Linked DNA regions of Homo sapiens: region 2 is linked to region 1. The links are contacts of gene promoters, found by promoter capture Hi-C in blood cells and fetal thymus (Javierre and others, 2016). All regions are on one chromosome and are shown on one strand. The core of a region is centred on a gene start or on the middle of the fragment in contact, and the rest is flanking DNA. Distances in the headings are between cores, read along the strand shown. Region 1 holds the start of VANGL1 (VANGL planar cell polarity protein 1). Region 2 overlaps LOC112268235 (a long non-coding RNA gene).

Region 1 (4,624 bases), core at 1,037-3,536:
AATATCATGTTAGTTAGGGAAACCAGACTGCCACAGGAGCCAGGGCTTAAACGTTGAGAGTCTAACTCCAGAACCTGTGTTCTTAGCTACAGAAAATTGACAGCACTGTAGCAATTACTAGAATTGTTTGTTTATATAGAGGAGTATAAGCAACAATCACAAATTGTCCCAAACCACATATAACCCCACTAAGAATTTTGCAATTTCAACTTCTACTCACAGGTTCAGTGTTCCAAGCATCGTGGGGCACTCAGGAGAAAAGAAATGGATCTAAAATAGTTCTAACTCCCAATGAGCTCACAGCCCCAATGTGGAGACCTCCAATTAAAACACAATGTGACAAGGGCCCATCCCACCAAAATAGCTGATAAGGCCTAGGGTAGCAAGCACAGTGTGTGTATATAAGTGTGTTAAGGGGATGATGAAGGGGAGGATGCCTTCTTCATTCAACACATTTATCCTTCAAACAAAGGGTGACATGGAATTGTTGCTTGGTAAAGAAACTTTAAATTTCCTTTATGGTTTTGTCCTGTTGCTTAATACATAAGACAATAAAAATGTACTGCTTGGCAAGCAGTCCTTACAAATATATCACTCTCAAAATTCTTCTCCCATTTTACTTACAAATTAAGTTGCAAGCAAGCCTCACTGCCAACATTGTTAATAGTGAAATTCCACACTGAGTGTTTTCACTAATTATACTGAGAGACATCAACGTTTGGGAATGTTTAATGCTCATGGATAGGTGAAGCGTGTTATTTCTTTGAACTGGAAAAAGAAACAGTTTCCTCCCACAAATCAAAGCCCCAACTATATCACATTGATTTAATTCAACCCTAAAAACTCTATAATTAGTGGTTACAGAAAATGGCTAATTACCTCTCCCTGTATTCAGACAATTTCTGCCATCTCACTTGCAGAGCCTGGGAGCTGTGTACTCAACCCACCCACTGACGGGAGAATGCTAATTAGCATTGTTGACTGGTGATACAAGTTATAATATTTTTCAGCAGCCCCGTAAAATTTATAAACATGTCAGTGAAAATGCCAGATTCTTTTACAGTTTGTTAGCTTTTGGACTAAGTGTCTAAGAATACATTCATTTCTAACCAAAGCCAGGTCAAGAGTTTTAACAAAATGCATGGGCCATCTACACAATCATCATCATAAGGCGCTCTAACACTTCCTAAGGAGAATCTAAGAGAGCTCACAACACCTTCGCAGCGTGGGCATTAGACCTGGTTTGGAGAAGTGAAAACTGAGCAACAGATTCCTCAGCTCCAAGTCTCATCTGCTCATCACACAGCAGCCAGGCCGCGGCTCCGCCCCACTGCTGCCGCCACCACGGACGCGTTTAAATTTTTATAAAGCTTCACACTTCTCTAGGCGCGATGCTTGGGGCAGTTCAAAGACTGCAGAAGGAAATGAGGTCCTGCCGGTGGCGAAGGCTGCCCCGGCGCGGTGAGATTTCCTCCAGCAGGGACACCTTGGGCAGAGACCCGCCAGGCGCCTCTGCTCCACCCCGGCGTTTTTGAAAGTAAACTCCTACCTGCCTGTTGCGCTCTCCGAGGCGCAACCGGACTCGCCCCCCAGGCCTCCAGGGCCGGCTCAATTTTTTGTGAGCGAGGTGTGCACACAGACCAGCTCTGTCCCGGTTCCTGGCGAAGGGCCAGGCGGCGCCCGGGTCGAGCCCCGCCAGGGGTGGGAACCCCGGTGCGCGCCCGGCTCCCGCCCTGCACGGCTGCTGCAGCCGCCCGGTGCCTCCAACGCTCGGCCACTCCCTGCCGGCCTGCCCGCCGCCCCGGCACGCGCACCGAAGGGGCGCACTCCAAAGGCCAGCCCGGGGAGAAAGGGACGTCCGAGGTGTGAGCAGGGAACCCCGGGACCCCAAGGAGTGGGGTGCGGCGGAGATCGCACGGCAGGGCCAGGAGGGGCGCAACGCATGGGGAGAAGAGTGGAGTCAGAGGAAGCACTACCCGGAGCGCTCCGGAGGAGGGGAGGGAGCCCCCGGCCCGAGGCGGGAGCCGGCCACCCGGGGTCGAAGTCCGGCGGGGCGAATGCGGGAGGAGGGCGCAGGGGCACGCGGGGTCCGAGGTGGGGGCGTCTCCCAGCCAACGGTCTGCCCCGGGGACCGCCGCCGCGCAGCGCTCGGCCTCTCGCGGGACTCACCTCCGCGCCGGCCGCCCGAGCTCCGCGGCCCGCGGTCTCGGCTCACAGCGGCCCCGGCTCTGCGGCCTGCGCTGGGCTCCTGGAGAGGCAGAGCCCCGCCGCCGCCGCCGCTGCACTGCTGCTTTCCGCTTCCTGTCCCGGCGCCGCCCCGCAGCCCGAGCCCAGCCCTGCGAGCCCGGCGCGGCCGCGAGCCAAGAACAGCTAGCGCTGCCGGCCCCGCCGCGGGGCCGGCCCACCTGCAGCGGAGGGCGGGGCTCGGCCGGCGTCCCCCTCACCTCGTCACCGCCCCGACCCCACACACCCGGGACACACACGAAGGCGTGCGCGGTCACACTCTTACACACGGACCAGGGAATGACACCTCCCACACTCATTCACCCTCATACACACACTCACCCTACACAGACGTGCACAGCCCAGTAACCCACTCTCTTCTGGGCAGACACACACACTATAAACACATGGCCCAGGGATTGATCTCCGACACCGCCCCCTCCCTCCCCCACATACTTGGAATCTCAAGCTCACACACACACACACACACACACAATCATGCACAAAATCCGAGCCCATTTGCCCTCACGAGTGCCCCCATCCACATATTCACACGGCTCAGGGACTAACCCCCCAACCCCACTCAACACACACTCATATACACACTTTCCAAGAACTGACCGACAAATATCCATATACACCATATCTCAACCCATATACACACACTTAAACTCACATGTAGCCCTGGAAATGACCCCACAAATAGACACACACACACACACACACACACACACACACACACCCCCTACAAGCCACCACAGCAAGCCTCTCCCCTCCTCCTCCCTTATCAGAGCAGGCACTGCCGCCAGCCTAGTCTCCTAGAAACTGCTAGATGAGCACATCTCTGCAGGCAGGTAGCTGAAGCTTCAGTGCTGATTCCAACCAGGTACTGTTTCCTTTCTGAGCCTTTGTTTACCTGTCTGAAAAGTGGTGAGGATGCTGCTGTCCACCTTGCAGGATTGTGGTGAGGATTACAAAACAGTTGGCAACGATTTTCATGAATATTTGCACTTTTCTTAGTTGTCTTGTGTTGGTAGCATTAGGGTTCCTTACTGATCATCTCCAATCTAGCTGGGACCCAAAGCTGCTTACGTGGCAGGATTTTCCAGTGGAAGCAGTGTATAATGAAGTGCTGAATTTCCTAAGAGTTGTCTACAGGAGTATTGCGGGCATTTGGGGTGGGGAAATGCAGGCCCACCCTGACTAGCCTTAATCAGGGAACCTTGGCTCCAAGAACCCCTCACTCCCTTGATCACCTCTTCCTCATCCCTTCTAGACTCCATTTTCTCTCGCATATGTCACATTTCCTTGAGAAGACACCCATATGTTCAATGTGGCTGATTTTCACCACTCCTAGTCCCCAGGCTCTGCTGCCCCACTCAGTGGCCTAGACCATCTTCCTCCCCCACCCCCAGCCTCCCAGTAGGCTCCAGAGAGCAGATGTTGCTGACTCAGGCAGCCAGGTTCCTATGGGTAAAGCCAATGGTCTATTCACCCAAATCAGCACTCAGGGTCAGAAATGTAGAACATTATAAAAACATGTCTCTCTCATCTCTAAAATGTAGAACTTTCAAAGTTCAAACAGGCCAGGGATTTCCAATTCTAGTCATGTACCTGAATAGCTCCAATTAACACAGAGATCTTCAATGAGTTTTCAGAAAGTAATTCTAATTCACTTAGGTTCTTATGTCTAGCCACCTTACCAGATGATGTTTTGTGGGAAAGAGGGGTAGTTGCAAATAACCTATTTTAAAATAATAAATTCACCTTTAAATGCCATGTAGAGGCCGGGCTTGGTGGCTGAAGCTTGTAATCCCAACACTTTGGGAGGCTGAGATGGGCAGATCACTTGGGGTCATGCGTTCAAGACCAGCCTGGCCAACATGGCGAAACCCCATCTCTACTAAAAATAAAAAAATTAGCCAGGCGTGGTGGCAGGCACCTGTAATCCCAGCTACTCAGGAGGCTGAGGCAGGAGAATTGCTTGAACCTAGGAGGCAGATGTTGCAGTGAGCTGATATCATGCCACTGCACTCCAGCCTGGGCAAAACGAGACTCCATCTCAATTAAAAAAAAAAAAAAAAAAACATGCCGGGGGACCTGGGCAAGATGGCTGAATAGGAACAGCTCCAGTATGCAGCTCCCAGCAAGATCAATGCAGAAGGCAGGTGATTTCTGCATTTCCGACTGAGGTACCCAGCTTATCTCATTGGGACTGGTTAGACAGTGGGTGCAGCCTACAGAGGGCGAGCTGAAGCAGGGTGGGGCGTCACCTCACCCAGGGAGCGCAAGGGATTGGGGAACTCCCTCCCCTAGCCAAGGGAAACCATGAGGGACTGTGCTGTGAGGAACAGTACATTCCAGCCCAGATACTATGCTTTTCCCATGGTCTTCACAAACA
Region 2 (4,624 bases), core at 1,203-3,702, 860 kb before region 1:
GGCAGATTACCCGAGGTTGGGAGTTCGAGACCAGCCTAAACAACATGGAGAAACCCTGTCTCTAGTGAAAATACAAAATTAGCTGGGCACGGTGGCACATGCCTATAATCTCAGCTACTCAGGAGGCTGAGGCAGGAGAATCGGTTGAACCCAGGAGGCAGAGGTTGTGGTGAGCCGAGATCGTACCATTGCACTCCAGCCTGGGCAACAAGAGCAAAACTCCGTCTCACAAAAAAAAAAAAAAAAAAGAAAAAGAAAAAGAAAAAGAAAAAAAAATCAGGTTTGAAGGAAGCGTTCCAAATACATTCTGTGAAATGGCAGCATTGTTAGAACATGCAGGCACCAACCTCCCTCGGGAAGGATTTTGAAGAGGACAATGCTCATTGGGTTTTAGGTACTGGGGCAATTACTCAAATGTAATAATCTTGAACACACCCAGCTTCTGGGAGCCTGGAAGGTGTTTGCCGAGCTGCTTTTAGGGACAGTGATACCAGCAATATCCACTGGGGGTCTCTCTCATACAAATAATGGCATAGCTGTTCCCAGCAGTTAGAGGAAATGGCAGCCCTGGGACCTGGGGGGATCCAAGGGCAGTCCACGTCTCCATGGGAAGATGGCAGCAGCTCTGTGGCTCTTCACAGTGAAGTGACGACCTGTTGTTAAATGTTTAACAGAAGCCAAACTTGGCTTTTAGGGGACAGCTCTCCTGCCAGCCAGCCAGCTTGCCAAAGGAATCTTTCCTGTGCACAGAGAGCACACTGGGCTTGGAGACATTCTCTGCACAGTGGGATTTGGTGAGAATCTTAAGAGTTTCTGTTCAAGGTCAGTTTGTCTCTCTCAGACCGTGGCACCAAGGAACCTGCTGCTACCCTACTTGATGGGGCTGAACAGGAGATATATTCCACGCTTCACAATTGCCACCTTTCGGGAGCGGCTTCACCAGGTGAAGAAGCCCTGGTTTAGAGATGAGATCTGGGTTTGGGTTCTGGTTCTGCCCCTCATTAGCCATGTGACCTTGAGCAAGCCTTATCCTTTCTCGTTCTCGGTTTCTTCATCTGTAAGATTAGGAATACTCATCTCTAATACTAATCTCAAAAATTGTTTTGAGTGTTAAATAGGAACGAATGCATATGAAACTTTAGAGAAGGGCTTGGCAGATGTTTTCTATGAAGGGACAGATAGAAACTATTTTTGGCTTTATTGACCTTACAGGCTCTGTCTCAACTACAGAATTCCACGATTGTAGTAGCGTGGAAGCAGCCATAGGCAATTCATCAAGAGATCAGCAGGGCTGTGTCCACTAAAACTTTATTTTACAAAAACAGGCAGTGGGCTGGGTCTTGCTCATGGGCTGTACTTTGCCTATCCTCACAGCCTGTTTCTGTGAAGCCCGTGAGCTCAGGATGGTTTTATGTTTCTAAAGGGTTGTAAGGAAAAAACAAAGAAAAGGTGACAGTGCCCAGAGCGAGTATTTACCACCGGCTTCTTGGAGAAGCTGGCTGGCTCCGCTCTAGAGCATTGCAGGAAAGTCAGCCCAGGAGGCAGGCAGCTGTGTCCCTGAGTATCAGGGGGCCTGCCTGGTAAGTCACAATGAAACAGACAGTGGCCAGATGACCCCTGGGCCCTATCCAGCTCCAGGGGCTAGGGTCCACATGACTCTGATGACCGAGCTCAGGGGCTAGAGGAGGGAAGGGAAATGGCCCCCTAGTTCTCTTTTCAGTTGTCTATTTCAGATGGTCCTTATGAAAGAGGATCAGCAAAGCTTCCATCAGAAAATGAACCAATAATCAAGTGAATGGGGCTTTCGTTTCCTGAATTGTCTCTAGCCTGTGAGGCTGTGCTTCCATATGGAACTTCTGAGTTCTCTACGAACTCGAACAATGAGTCATGGGCGAGCCCAGGACTCCCACCCACTTGGAGTCATGGGGCTCTGACATGGAGACAAGACCACAGGGTTTCTGTCAGGCCAGAGCCCTGACCCCTCAGCTAAGATGTTTCTTCTTTGTTCTAGATTCAGTCATATAAGCAGAGGCAGCAGGTACTAGGCCTCAGAGTAATAGTCCCTGAAGAAAATAAAGAGAAAGTCTGTCTGAGAAAAGCCAGTTGTGCCAGTTAAAGAATGACCTATGGCCACAATGCCTTACTGGAGGGTGCTTGGGAGCCCATGTCCTCATGTCTGTTGTATCGGGTTAGGGAGATCCTGGTGCATTTCAGTGGGGAGGGGGTTGCTGCTGGTCGTGTTTTCACTCCTTCTCTCTCCTTCCCCAGTGACCCCAAGACAAAATGCTGTTAGGTAAGTGGGGTCTGCTTAGCCCCACTAAGTTCCCCCATCCACCATTAGGAATCAGTGGTATTGTTATAGTCTACCAGGACCGACCTGGTGCTGCTCAGAACCAGGGGCTCAAGGCAGGGCCTCCCTTCATCTTCTTAAATTATTCTCTAGCAGCTCTGAGTCTCCCAAAGATTGGTCCTAGAGAAAAGACTATGTCATTTACTGCTTTTTCTGATGGTAAAAACATGCATATTTACTGCAGAAAATTTGAAAAATAGAGAAATGTGTAAAGAAGAAAACGTACAAAATAACTTTAGACTCAAAACCAATCTGATTAAATCAGGAAATCATTATTTATTGAGCACCTACTATGTGCCAGCCACTGTTGTTCTTGGTGCTGGGGACATAGCAGTGAAAAAAAAACAAAGTCCTCCCCTTCGTGGAGCCTATATTTCAGTAGGGACAGTCAGTACAGTACAGGAAGGGGCTGGGCTGATGGAACAGGATGCCTTTTTTGATAGGGTGGTCAGGACAAGAGGAAGCAAGGGATGCAGCTATTTGGGGAAGAGTGTTTCCAGCAGAAGGAAGAAGACCTGCCCAGGTGTCGGATAAGAGCCTGCTTGGTGCATTCAGGGATACGAAGGAGGCCAGCGTGGCTGAGATGAGGTAGGGGCAGCCGGGGTGAGAACAGGTGGGACTTGCCGGCCATGAAGAGGACCTTGGATTGCTGTTGAGTGAAATGGAAAGCCAAATGTAGGGTCTTGAACAGAAGAGGGACATGATGAGCCTTATGTTTTGAAATGATCATTCTGGACACCAGATGGAAAATAGACAGGGGCTGGGGGTGGGGTTGGCAAGGGGAGAAGCTTGGAAGCCATTTGGTTATTGCGAAAGTCACACAAAGCTGTGAAAGCAGAGCTGGCCTGGTTGAAGGAAGGGTGGAGGTGGGGGGAGGGCCGGCATTTCCTCCCACTGAGCCTCTGCCCTTCCCTTTTCCTGCTCTCTGAGGTTCCACCATGGGACCCCAGGGTACCTAGGATTACAATTTGAAAGCTATTGGACTAGAGGTTCTCTAAGGGCCCTTCCAGCTTTGCCTCCTGTGCTCTTGTGTTTCAGGACCATGCTGATTCTGTGGGACCAGGCCCGGGCTCTACCAGCCAGGCCTCTGAACATGTCAACTTGAGAACTGAACAGGTTCAGGGTCTAGGAAGGGGAGACATTTCAAAATTTTAATTAAAAAATATTTTTAACGTTTAAATTTTTGTAGAGACAGGGTCTTCCCATGTTGCCCAGGCTGGTCTCAAATTTCTGGGCTCAGGTGATCCTCCCGCCTTGGCCTCCCAAAATATTGGGATTACAGACATGAGCCATGAGATTTGGAAACTTAATTCAGCTCCCACATACTAAACGTGGCCAGCCCTGTGTGGGGATTGTAAGAGGGGATAAGTAAGAGGAAATGTCTGCTCCAAGAAACTCACTGGCTGGGATGGGAACTAGGGAATCACACAAATGGCCCAGCCCAAAGTCTGAGAGGCCCCGGCCCCTCCCTGCCTGGCCTTTTTTCCATGTGGCCCCTGAGCCAGTGGTTCCCAAACTGGGCAGGTCATGGGGTCATCGAGGAACTTCAGAATATGCAGATGCCCAGACTGTGCCCTCAAAGATTCAAATTCAGTTAGTCGAGGGTGGGTGGGGCCTGGGAATCTGTTCAGACAAAGGCCTGGCCTGAAGCCTGGGCTGGAGGGTTCAGTCCAGACAGAAGAACAGAGACTGATGAGAGGGCTTCTGCCAGCTTCACCAAGCCCGTGCTAGGCAGGATGTGGAAATCAAGCCTGTCTTCCAGTGGGGCACGGGGGTGGGGAGCTGGAGGAGGGGGTGGCAGCTCCTTTATCAGCTGTCCCCATCAGAGGCCCTTCTCCCAGGAAGGAATGTTTAAAAAACTCCCAGGAAGGAATTGCTGGGTTTGGAGACTATGAGAATTCCCCATCTCCCCCAATCTCCTCAGCCACCTCAAATCAACCAGCCCGTCTCCCCATGTTTGGGTTAACTCCTTATTGGCTCGGAATGTCTCGCCTGGGTTGACTACTGATCTGTGAGATCGCTTAGTGGCCTGAAATATTTCCAGAATACAAGCAACACTGACAAAAATATTCTTGTAGGGCCCCACAAATCTCACTGAGAAAGAACCCCTACAGGTGGAGAGGAGTGTGGGGTATGCAGACTGGAAGGTGGGACCCTGATTCATTCCAGAACTGGAAGGAAATCAGACATTTCCAAACAGGAGAGAGATGGGAAGCCGGAGGAAGGAGCAGGAGGAGGGAAGAGAATGAATCTTATGTGAATGAATGGTAATTT

The links. The method cuts DNA at HindIII sites, captures the fragments that hold promoters and counts their contacts. A CHiCAGO score of 5 or more calls a contact.
Region 2: a fragment that was not itself captured here is called in contact with the fragment with the promoter of VANGL1 in region 1 in 1 of 17 cell types (erythroblasts); the score reaches 5.0 in erythroblasts.

The regions. Positions count from the first base shown.
Region 1 is chr1:115,639,632-115,644,255 of GRCh38, reverse strand. It overlaps VANGL1 (VANGL planar cell polarity protein 1), which reads right to left and starts at 2,286. Exons shown (of 8, transcript NM_138959.3): 1 at 2,170-2,286. RefSeq lists an enhancer at 1,671-2,429 and a silencer at 1,565-2,554. The HindIII fragment of the contact is 1,717 bases long and covers 1,373-3,089 here.
Region 2 is chr1:116,495,121-116,499,744 of GRCh38, reverse strand. The region is part of intron 1 of LOC112268235 (a long non-coding RNA gene); the gene reads right to left. Among named protein-coding and RNA genes, the nearest start is that of LINC01762, 19 kb to the right of the region's middle. RefSeq lists an enhancer at 611-710. The HindIII fragment of the contact is 1,376 bases long and covers 1,765-3,140 here.